Linked DNA regions of Homo sapiens: regions 1 and 3 are each linked to region 2. Evidence: promoter capture Hi-C in human tissues and cell types (Jung and others, 2019). All regions are on one chromosome and are shown on one strand. Each heading gives the region's core, a stretch centred on a gene start or on the middle of the fragment in contact. The rest is flanking DNA. Distances are from core to core; before and after follow the strand shown. Region 1 overlaps RMEL3 (enriched in melanoma 3). Region 2 holds the start of GAPT (GRB2 binding adaptor protein, transmembrane). Region 3 overlaps PDE4D (phosphodiesterase 4D).

The links. The method cuts DNA at HindIII sites, captures the fragments that hold promoters and counts their contacts. A contact is called where the count stands out against the background at its distance.
Region 1: a fragment that was not itself captured here is called in contact with the fragment with the promoter of GAPT in region 2 in 2 of the 25 tissues and cell types used here (adrenal gland and dorsolateral prefrontal cortex).
Region 3: a fragment that was not itself captured here is called in contact with the fragment with the promoter of GAPT in region 2 in 1 of the 25 tissues and cell types used here (mesendoderm cells).

What each region holds. Positions count from the first base shown.
Region 1 is chr5:57,500,657-57,504,390 of GRCh38, forward strand. All of the region lies in intron 3 of RMEL3 (enriched in melanoma 3), which reads left to right. Among named protein-coding and RNA genes, the nearest start is that of ACTBL2, 20 kb to the left of the region's middle. The HindIII fragment of the contact is 3,585 bases long and covers 1-3,450 here.
Region 2 is chr5:58,489,851-58,493,732 of GRCh38, forward strand. GAPT (GRB2 binding adaptor protein, transmembrane) reads left to right here and starts at 1,585. Exons shown (of 3, transcript NM_001304431.2): 1 at 1,585-1,691; 2 at 3,861-3,882. The HindIII fragment of the contact is 14,545 bases long and covers 1-3,882 here.
Region 3 is chr5:59,003,120-59,006,739 of GRCh38, forward strand. The region is part of intron 6 of PDE4D (phosphodiesterase 4D); the gene reads right to left. Among named protein-coding and RNA genes, the nearest start is that of PDE4D-AS1, 35 kb to the right of the region's middle. RefSeq lists an enhancer at 1-688. The HindIII fragment of the contact is 5,756 bases long and covers 1-3,620 here.

The sequences.
Region 1 (3,734 bases), core at 408-2,907, 990 kb before region 2:
GAATATGAATGATGGGAAGGAGAAAAGCAAAAGGGGGTTATACTTGAAAATTGTTTTAGTCTATGAAAAAGGCTCAAAGAATTATAGAAGGATTGTGGAGATCACTCGGTCCAACTTGTGAGCCTTAAATCTGGGGTGCAGTAGTTATGGTGTAAGCTGAGGAGGAGCCAGGGCAGTATCATCACAGGTGCTCAGCCCAATGGCCTCTCCTTGGTGAGGAAGGTGAAGCCAATTTGAAAGCAAAGAGAGAGATTCGGTTCTCTGCAAAAAACAAACAAAACCAAAGCCAGTCCCTCCTCCACCCAATCTTCCATTGTAAATTCTGAGAAGGGAGCACCAGGCCTGGAGGATGCTGTCAGAACAGGACTCCTGAGGAATTAGATGCACCCGAGATGGCGATGGGACCCAGGTGTAATAACCAACACTCCACCTTCTATTAAATAGGAACTTTCTTCTGATTTGTTCCAAACACTCCCCACACTCGGAGAGCATTCCAGTGAAGTGGGTGGAGAAGGAAACAGATGTGAGACCAGATGCAGATCTGAACAAATTTGTTAGGTGAGTTCACGGATCCTTCCTTCTTTGGGAAGTGTTAGAGAAAGGAGGGAATTTCTGGAAACCAACCAAGTCAGTCTTGGAGATATATCCAGAGAACTCCATCAGCTATGAAGGGACCATGTTCCCACCTTTAGAACAGATATGATCTACAAAATAGAGCAAATGCTTTTTCTGGCGAGGAAGGACAGAGGGCAGAAAATGAGGTCCAAATAGAGTGGTTTGAGTTGTCCTCATCTGAGCCTAAACAGTTATGATGGAATCTCAGGAGGAGCCACATGGTATGAAAGGGTTTAATATTGAGTGAGCCTGGAGGAGGGACAGTATTGAAAGCCCAGCTCAGATGTACAGGATGTGTCTGTTCTTTAAAGATACTGATGCATTTCTCTTGAATTTTTCTACACTGCTGGGTCAAGCTATGTCAAGAATCTCTGTCTCATTGGGAAATGAGATATTTTCTACAATCTGTTTTTTTCTCTCATGATTCCCGTCGAGTTAAAGGCTGACATCTCATCAAGCAGCTCAACAGCCCCAGAGAGAGAGAGCGAGAGATCCCTTAGAGAGCTGGGCCCCAGGGAGAGACACATCTGAGGAACTCTCCCTGCATTGACTTGGCTTTGTGGCCTCTGTCCGAGGTTTTCAGATCTTATCAAATAGTGTCTCATTTGCACTGCAGTGCATGTCACAAAGCCCTGTGGATGCAAAGGAGGTGACAGCAAAAAAGGTTAACAGCAAACTGGGGACAGTGCCAGGAATGGAACTTGATTCCTTAATTCTTGTTCCAGAACCCAAGCAGCCTGGCTTTGCCAGGGCCAGCCTGGGTCTGTTCATAGAGCTGTCATTTGGCTTTTGGTCGTTTATATACCATTTGCTAACTGTTCATAATTCCAGTGCAATTTTCCTCAGAACATGGGAAACAAAGACAGCGAAACAAGGGGCTTTTATGTTTTTCTGTGCTGTCGTCAGTGGATGAAGTTGGCTGGGCAAGAGTACAAGCTTTTTCTTGCTACACTTGATGGAGTTTCCTTTTTTAAATGAACATTTTTAGGGAGAAAATGTCAGTGTGCAGGGTAAATGCAGAATGCCCTGTTAAATATTTAAAACATAGCATTTGTCCATCGATTTTGGCAGGGTTAGAGTCAATAGATTAATCATTCAGTCAACAAATACTTGAATAGATGCAAATCATTCATTGCTGTCAGAGCTACTCCTAGCCCCCACTGAGTCTTTGTGCAAAATTGAAAAAGGGGGTCCTCTGGGCAGAAACAACTCTGCACCAGGCCACATGACTTCAAGAGTCCCTAGCTCTCAGTCATGTGCCTTTGTGCAGTGTACAAACTGTGCAACTGTACATGACTATACATTGAGAGAGAGAGTGGGCCATATATTATGCCATTAGAGTACAAAATTAGGTCTTGAGCAGAATTTCAAGAAAAAGTCCCCCTTTTTGGGGCATGGCAAACAGAAGGAAGTAAGTTGCTTATTCTAAGGGAAAAACTACAAAGGCTTGCTGGGGTTTTGCCCCTAAATTCTTTACCCCTACTGCTGGGATAATACAGCCTCCTCTGGGCTGTAGGAACAATCCTGGATGTAAGGAGAAGGATAAGAAGGACCTGAGGACTCAGTATTGAATGAATCTCATCTTTCAGCTTCACGGTGATATCTCATGTCCATCTAGGTACAGATCCATGGTTTTTTGGTTCCTGCCCTATCTTCAGAATTCTCTTAGTGGTGGAATTTGTGCCTGTTTTTTACCCGTCATTTTCCCCTCTCCTTAGGGTCCTACCTGAACCCTTGACTGGTGCCCTATGACCATTTGCTGTGTTCTCCTAATGCCACACACCTTTCTGACTCCCTGGAAGCCTTTATGCTTCCAGGAAACTACCACAAGGAATTCTGACAATGGCCTCACCTGTTAGGGTGACTGCCTGGATCAAGGGCTCATTTTAGACCTATAAATCCTATTCGTGTTTCCTATCTTTTACTCCATGGATCTATTTCCTGGTTTTGGACTAATCTTTAGAACCATAGTTCTCAAAAAAGAATGCTTATTAGAACTGCCTAGGGTGCTTTGTAAAACTTGGGTGCCCAGATACACTTCTGCCCACTGAAATTAGAATGTCTGGGGAGGCACAGGCACCTGTATCTTTAAGCCTCCATAAGTTATTTCTACAGGCAGGCAGGCATGGTTGAGAACACTGTTTAGAATCACATCCCCACGTTTGTCTACTCTTTTTTTGTTGTTTGTTTGTTTTCTTTATCTCTTCTTCATTTCTGAAGTTCGCTCTTTGATTAGTCAGCTTTTTTTATGTGTGTTTCTATGTTGAGAACTGTGGCCTTCACCTAGACTCATGAGTCTGATTGCACTAATTTTTCCCGGGCCAGCCTGGCTCACCACCAGACAAGCTTAAATTATGATTATGTTTTGGAGCCAGAAGGCTGAGAGGGCTATCTGGAGACCCAAAGTTAGCCTTTTGTGGTTTCTTTATCCTGTAATTCTAATAAATGCAATTCATCAACCTGTCTTGCACAGGAAAGAACATTCTTTGTAGGCAGACCTCAACTTATGAATAGATTATGTTCCAAAATTTGTTTGTGGTCAGTTGTTAGGGACGTAGAACTCCATTCCCAGAATAACAAAGTTACAAAGGAAAGTTTCAGGTCGCAATAGTCTACTGAGTCTTTGAAAAGCCGAACTTTAGAACGAATAGAGCCAAAGGCTCAAGTCTGTGATTAGGCTGAACCACATGAAATTGAGATTTTTGTATGTCAAAAATGGTTGAATATTGGCAATTTTCTGTAGGCTCAACCAATAATATGTTTTGGTTTAGGGAGGGGGAAAACATTTTAAGTGCTAGATTAGAGTGTTTCAGAACAGTTCATGCTTATCAAGATTCTAAGAGGACCCTAAAGGACTACCTCATTTTTAAAAAGTCCTTGCACCCCCTTCAGTCTCTCTCCTTCTAGCCAGGTAAAATGTAAGCAAAGACAGCACAGGCCTTCTGAGGGAGCAGACATACAAATGAGGAGGGCTTTAGCAGTTGTGGATTTCTATTGATTCTGCTGGTGAATGGGTTGGGGCAGAGGTGTCTAGGTGAGCAGGAGGGAGATGAGGTTCTTATGTTGGCAGCCTCCAGATAAGCAGATGTTTCTACAGAAACCTTTCAGGTACTGTGTGG
Region 2 (3,882 bases), core at 335-2,834:
TATAAATTGCCTTTCTTACAGATGTATGCCTAGGCAGGTGAGTGTGTATATTATTTGGAGGGGTGGCTAATACTGAAGTTAAATATAGTGGTGAGAATGTGGAGCACATCAAGTTCATAGCTTCACAACTTCATAACCTCCTTCACTGTAAGATTTTTGTCCAGGACACCCCTATTCTGCCTTAACACCTTATTCTATGAGGCTTAGCTCAGGTCTTGCCTTCCCTGACCACCCTCTGAGCTGGATGCCTCTTTCCTTTACCTCCACTGTCCCTGTCCATAATCCTGTCTTTCTTAGGCATTATCACTTTGATCTGAAATGTTCTGTGGGCGCAGCAGCCTCTCTACTTGGCTTTAAGTGCTGCAGGGAGCTTATTCACTCTTGCATCCTCATCTCTTAGCACAATGCCTGGCATAATGTCAGTGCTCAGCAAGTGTTAATAATACGTCCTGTCCTTCCAATGTCCAGTAGTTATTTCAGTAACTAAATCCTCTTTTTTAAAACCACCTTATGCAAAGTTAATCCTCTGTGGTTCAAAAAGTTCCAAGACAACTTAAAAGACAAATTTTCCATTACTTTGTCATCTCATCTGTCGAATTCATCTGTAATTTGTCTAATTCAGCATCTCCCACTGTGTGTGTTCCCATGAGTTGGACTCCAAGAGATGCTCTTGGTAAGCGTATCTATGTGGGAAACATGTTACTCAATCTAGCAAGGCAGCCAGTGCAGTGGTTTAGCACACAGGTGCTGGGGGCAAACTGCAGGCTCTGTCGGGCAAGTGATCATTCTGTGTGCTTCTGTTTCCTCTTCTGTAAAATAGGACTAATAACAGTTTTTCTCCCTCACAGGGTTGTTGCCAAGATTTGCTGAGTATTACACAAAAGGTTTGGAGTACTTAGTGCTAGGAACATACTGACTACTATTATTAAGCAAAGTTAAACAATTTCTTTTTCTTATTTGGTTTTATTTTGTTTGCTGGCTGTAAGACTGCTGAGAGCCTTTAGCATGCTGATGTACCCATGAATCTCCAGGGAAGCAGTATTCCCCACATTTACTTGATGGAAGAGCTGCTAGCATATCTCAGGGGTAATGGGCCTCAAAACATACCTTAGGAAATTCCTATTTATAAATTTAAAAGAACGTTAACATTTTCCAAACCCAAATTGGGACACTGATTTGACCTGTATGGCTATAACTTGGGAGCATTGGTACATAATATTAATATTTGAAGAGAGGACTGGTCTAGCAACACAAGTAAATAATAATAATAATAATAAAAGCCCAAGACCTATGTGTTACTACAATTAAAATATTTCTTTTTTTAAAAAATCAAAGTACAAGTGAAGTGACTTTTATTGATATTAAAGTGGGAACTGCAAATATGGCCCAAATAAAAAACCATGTAGGCTTTACGTATTATTTTCTGACACAGTTAAAAAACTATTACTTGACAAAGATGAAGGGCCAGACTTCCTTATTCAAAACCTCACGCCATTTATCTTAATTCTGCTGCATCTGATACTGACTTCCTCTAGAGCCAGGAAACTTTGCAAGTATTAAATAGCGTGAACGAAGGAGGGAAAGAAGGAAGTAACCCACCAAAGTGAAAAAGAGGAACAAGTTCTAACCCAATGCAGGTTTAAAACATAACCAAAAGAACAAAAGAGAGAGCTTGACACACCAATCTTGAGGTAAGTAAGAACCTGATTTAAGGTATTTGGATGATTAAACACTATAAGAAACAAGTTTGTCTTTAATTAATCAATGATTTTTATCTTACTACAGTTTTTAGAAAAAAATGCCTTACGTAGCTGTAAGGGGGAAACCCAATTTACAAACTGAGAGTGATGTTAATGTTTCTTTACAATATGATTATGCTTTGCTGTTACCTTGTTTCCAAACAGCAGGGCATTCTCTTACTTGAAAATTCCTGAAGTTTCTCAACAATTTGCGATTTTAAGAAAAATGTCAAATTGTTAGGTAACCTGTTGGAACTGCTTTCCAAAATGAAAACAGAGTCTTCTTTCAAACTGGTCAAAGTGAACATTATTTAAGTGTTAAACTATATTTGAATGGTTATTGTTTAAAATATGTTTTTCATTATAGTAGGTCTTTGTTCATGTCTCACAGGTTTTTTCCTCTAATGTTATTTCGAAGAAAATGATGCATTTCTTTTTCTGTAAAAAGTCTTCTTGTCTTTATCTTGGTAAATATCTCTTAGACAAACAATTTTAATATTTTGGATGTACCAGAATTTCTACTCTACATAGAATAACATAGATGGTAAAAATGCCTTTTCTTCTTAAAAATTAAGAGAGTAATTTATTGCCTTATCCTCAGCTACAGAAGTGACAATAGTTAGCCTTCCTCAACCCTCACCGTGACTTCTGTTGCAGGCCTAGTATCTTTCAAAAAGTTGATTAATTTCAATCAATACTTAAAGTGTATTTTGTAAATTTATTTCAAATATTCTGGCAAATAACTTCTTAAATCATTAACCATGTATACCATAAAATATCTTGCAGATAATTGGTGCTCATCTGTTTCAGACAGGAAATGAGGTCCTAATGATTAAAGTCATTTGGCTAAACTTTTGTCCTTGAACACAAGCACGGCTGGCCTTATAAAGGAGGGACCCTGCAGATTGTAAATCTTATGTGGCGGACCATACAGTTCTCAACCTCAATATTACTCCCAAAAATTCCAAGGAGATTAAAATGTTTCTGCATCTGGGGTGCTTGTCCCTGTATTTTTATCAAAAAATTGTATAAATTAGCTGCACATCTTATTTAATTTTCTTTTATGAAATGTCAAATTAAATATTTGCATATTAATATATTCTAACCTTGGACAAATTTATGAACGTTCATTACCATTAAACTTTTCATGAAAACTCACTGAAAGCAGAGCACCACTTTGTGAATTTCTATTTTTCTTCTCATTGTTACTATTATTATCCCATAAGGAGATTACTTCATTCATTAACAAATGTCTAATAGATTAGTCATTCTGTGTCTAATGCTGGTGTTGGTAATACAAAGGTAAATAATATATGATTTCCAACCTTCGAGAACCTCAGAGCTAATCAAGCTATACAAATTTTCTGACTGATGCACTTAGTAGCATGTTACAGATATTTGGATAAATAATATTTTGGGGAAATTTTTACCTGAATTCTCATTCAGTCACATTTTGGTTGTAAGGAAGTTACTTAACTTCTTTAAGCCTCTCTTCTTATCTATAAAATGGTGATATGAATAGTACCCACTACATATAGCAGCTATAGGATTAAATGAGATAATCCCTGTAACAGTTTTTAAAAGCTGAAACTCTTAACTAAACATTATTGATGATAATAACATTCCATAGATGATAATAATCATTTCACAGGCACTGTTGGATCTATGTCTATGTCTAGACTGAAAATATACAGTAATAATGTTTTGTTGATAAAATCACAATGGAACATGCAGCCCAGTTGAACACTTCCCCTTCTTGTCTCCTTGCCATTTTAAAGCATCAACAGAAAACAATGTAAAATCATCTTGCATGGAAGTTATTTTCTGAAAGCTATGAGAAAACCTGTGATACTAAGGATTTTGAAAATACATTGGTTTACTTTAAAGATCTCATTTCATGTTTTAAGTATAAACTACACCCTTGAGTTTTAAACTATCATCTTAAGCAATTAGATGCTGACATTTGCAGTCATTTTTAAATGCATTATTTCATTCAATAAATATTGATTGGATGCATTTTCTGTGCTAGGTGTTGTGCCATTCTCTGGGAACATACAGATGAAATGACCTGAACCCTGCCCACCATTTAACCAAGTAAGAATACAATTCTCTCTCATTTAGGTTATCACGCTATAATAGAGAA
Region 3 (3,620 bases), core at 22-2,521, 510 kb after region 2:
ATCTTCTTGCCCCTGGCTTTTCCCCTTCTAGTCTCATATTGACCTCTACTGCCAGATCAATTTTCCTCAAATCCAGCCGCAGCCTGTTACTTCAAAGCTAGTAATGCCTGCTTCATCACATCCCTCTGTAAATTCCAGACTGCCATATCTGACCTTAATCCCCAACGCCAAGCCTATTTTCAGCTGCTCTATTACATTTGCTCTGTTCCTGAAAGACTAGTACTCCTCCACCTTCACCATACAGCTGACAATCCCATCTCTGTCTTACCAAATTCTCGGCCTAAAATACCCTCCTTCTTCTACTCTGCCAACCTCAAACTGGTTTTCTCAGTCAGATTTAAATCATTCAAAGTACATCTTAGGACCAAATATTCCAGCCTTTTTCCAAATTCTAACGATTCTACATCTGCCCCTTCATTCAATATTTATTAAGCTCCTACTCTATGTCAGGCACTGCCTGAGAAAGAGAAACAAAGCTTTCTCACCTGCAGCTTATATTCCAAAACTAAGTTAATAAATACATAATACGTCATGGGGTGATAAGCACAATGGAGAGAAAGAAGGGATAAGGATTACGGATAGAGGTTGCTATAAGGTGATCATGGAAAGCCCCTCTGATGAGATGACGTATACCAGGAGATCTGAAGAAAGGAAACAAGCCATGTGGATTGCGGGGTGAGAGGTAGGGTAGAGAAGGGAAAACCAAGTGAGGAATGGCAAAAGCAAAGGCCTCGAGGCAAAACATACTTGGTGAGGCTCCCTGAAGAACAGGTGGAAGTGTCATACCACTTGTCATTTAAATGCAAATTACACTCTGCAGTCAGGCTCACTGCCTTCCCCCTCCTTTAAAAAAAAAAAAATCCATCCATCCATCAATTTTATTCTTTGACAAACTTAAGACTCAGTTACTTTTTACTTTTTATAACAAGTATTCATCCTGAAATGAAATTCCTAAATACACTTCCTTCATAATACTGTACTGAATACATATAGGCTAAATACTCCCTACATAGATTTAAAAAAAAAATCAGTATAATGGCTTATCAGTGAAATAAAGGAGAAATGAGTAATTTCTATCAAATACTACAAAATATAAATACTTGTACACAACTACATTTTAAAAAGTAGTCAAAAACTACTATAACTGATTAGCTGTGTGACCTTGGGGAAGCTATTTAAATTTCCCATACTTCAGTTTACTCACATGGAAAATGAGAATAATAGTTTCTACCTTACAGGGTTGTTGTGAGGATTAAATTAGTGCATATACATAAGGCTCTTAGAACAGTAAGTGCTATCTAAGGGTTTGCTATGATTTCTCTTATGGGGAGAATTACCACAAAAGTAACAGTAGCATGAAAATGAATACAGGGGTGTTATGTTAGAAAAATTTTCCTTTTTCCTGATATGATGAATGATTCTTTGAAAGGTTTCAAATGTAACAAAGTGCCATCTTCACAATATACACTATTGCTGCATTACTAGAAAATTTGGTGTGGATTAAAACCATGTAAAAATATTTAATACTTATACGTAAAAAGTAGTTGGGTTCTAGGCTCAGAGAATTATAAATGCATTTTGTTTTTTCACCTATGTGAATAGCTGCTGGGACTTTTTGGAAGTTGTGTGGGACACACAGCAAACCTCCCTGGTGAAAGGCTGTCCCATGTATCCCAGGACATCTAGCCTCCCTGGCCTCTGCCCACCAAGCACCAGGAGTACTCCCCAGTCACTGTCCCCTGAAATTTCCTGAATGTTCCCCAGTGTTAAGAATCACTGTTCTATTTTTTTCAACTGTCTTCAACTTTGACTCCTCATCCAGGGTGGAGGATCTTTGAGGCCAGAAAAGTATCTTATTATGTCCCTGTATTTCTCAAGGTAGTGTACTATTGCCACAAAAAGATTGTTGGCTGATGCAGATGCAAAACATCAATATTTTTATACTGATTATAGGTGACAGGAAAGGACAAGGGTTTTCACCCTCAGCAAAATCATCAAAAACATTTAAAACAGATTACATATAGTAGATAATACTCCTTGTCTTAAAACATTATGCAGAAACACACATACAGTTTCCCTTCCCTCTAAAATCTGCAGCCTCTTCTCCCTGCTGAATGTGAGTGATGGTCCCTTCATTCAACAGACTTCTATTTGGCAACTATTATGTGCCAGGCATTCTAATAGGTGCTGGATGTGAAAGGATTTAACTTATTCAAATAAGTCCCTAATTTGCTGCAATAAGGGAGATTATTTAATCATATTGAGTAAAAAGTACCAAGGAAAGTTTCCATATTTCTAGGGAATAAGAAATCTTTTCAAAAATCTCTGAGCCAAATTAAAATTCATTTCATTTTCCCTAATCTCCATTTCTAGGAGACTAGAATCTCCTTCCTATTGCCACGGTAGCTGCTATCTGCAGAGAGAATCTAGATAATTTAGAAGAGAAATTTGAATAGAGCCAGAGAGATACAATTCTTATAGTCAGACTTGGCTTCACCAAATTTAATGAAGAAACTTTAATAAGTTACAACATTTACTAGGCACCTACTATGCACAAAGAACTTTACATACCTCATTTCTAATCTTGGCAACATTCTGATAAGATAAATATTATCCCTATTTTAACATGAAAAGATGGACCTTCTTACATATTCAATAACTTGCTCCATAGGTGACAGGATTGAAATGCAAACCCAGTCCTTGCTCTTAATGGTGTATGACAGCTCATCATATAATTAGGCTGATGCAAACTCTATGATAAACAGTATGAATCTAGGAGTGGATTTGTTTATCCTCAATCTTTTTGCTAACTTTACAGTGCCTTGAATTAAAGAATCATGGTTACTATCACCATGGTCAGATCTCTGGACAGGGTGAGGAAGCAGGTGCCCACAGGCAGACAGCCCTGCCATATAGTGAGACACGCTTATGTTTGGGAGCGCTATGTGAACAACACACAGCTGCCCTCATATGCAGATGTAATGATGACGACACATTCAGACAAGGAACTGAGGTCCAGAAAAGTTCTGACAACACAACTTGAGGGACAGCGTTACAGCTAGAGCTCAGGTTTCTTATCTGTAATCCACTGCTCTCAAATGCCCAAATGATTTTATATACATATATGCAAGTGTGTTTGTTGAAATAGAAAAAATAGTTTCTTGGCCTGGTGAAGTGCCTCATGCCTGTAATCCCAACATTTTGGGAGGCCAATGCGGGAGGATTGCTTGAGGCCAGGAGGTCGAGACCAGCCTGGGCAACATAGAGAAACCACCGTCTCTACAAAAAATTTAAAAATTAGCCAGGTGTGGTGGCATGTGCTTGTAGTTCCAGATACTACTGAGGTGGGAGGTGGGAGGTGCTGAGGTGGGAGGATGGCTTGAGGCCAGGAGTTTAAGGCTGCAGTGAGCTATGATTGCACCACTGTACTCCAGCCTGGATGACAGAGCAAGACCTTGTCTCAAAAAAGAAAAAAAAAATTCCCATAATGTTCAGTTAGTTCTCTTTTTCAGACTTTTCCTAGAAATACCCCTCAGAATTTCTAGAGGCCACTTCCCTGCTATTCCTTGTTTTCTCAGTCCTTACCAGATACCCAAGCAATTAACAATCTTTTTGAACTA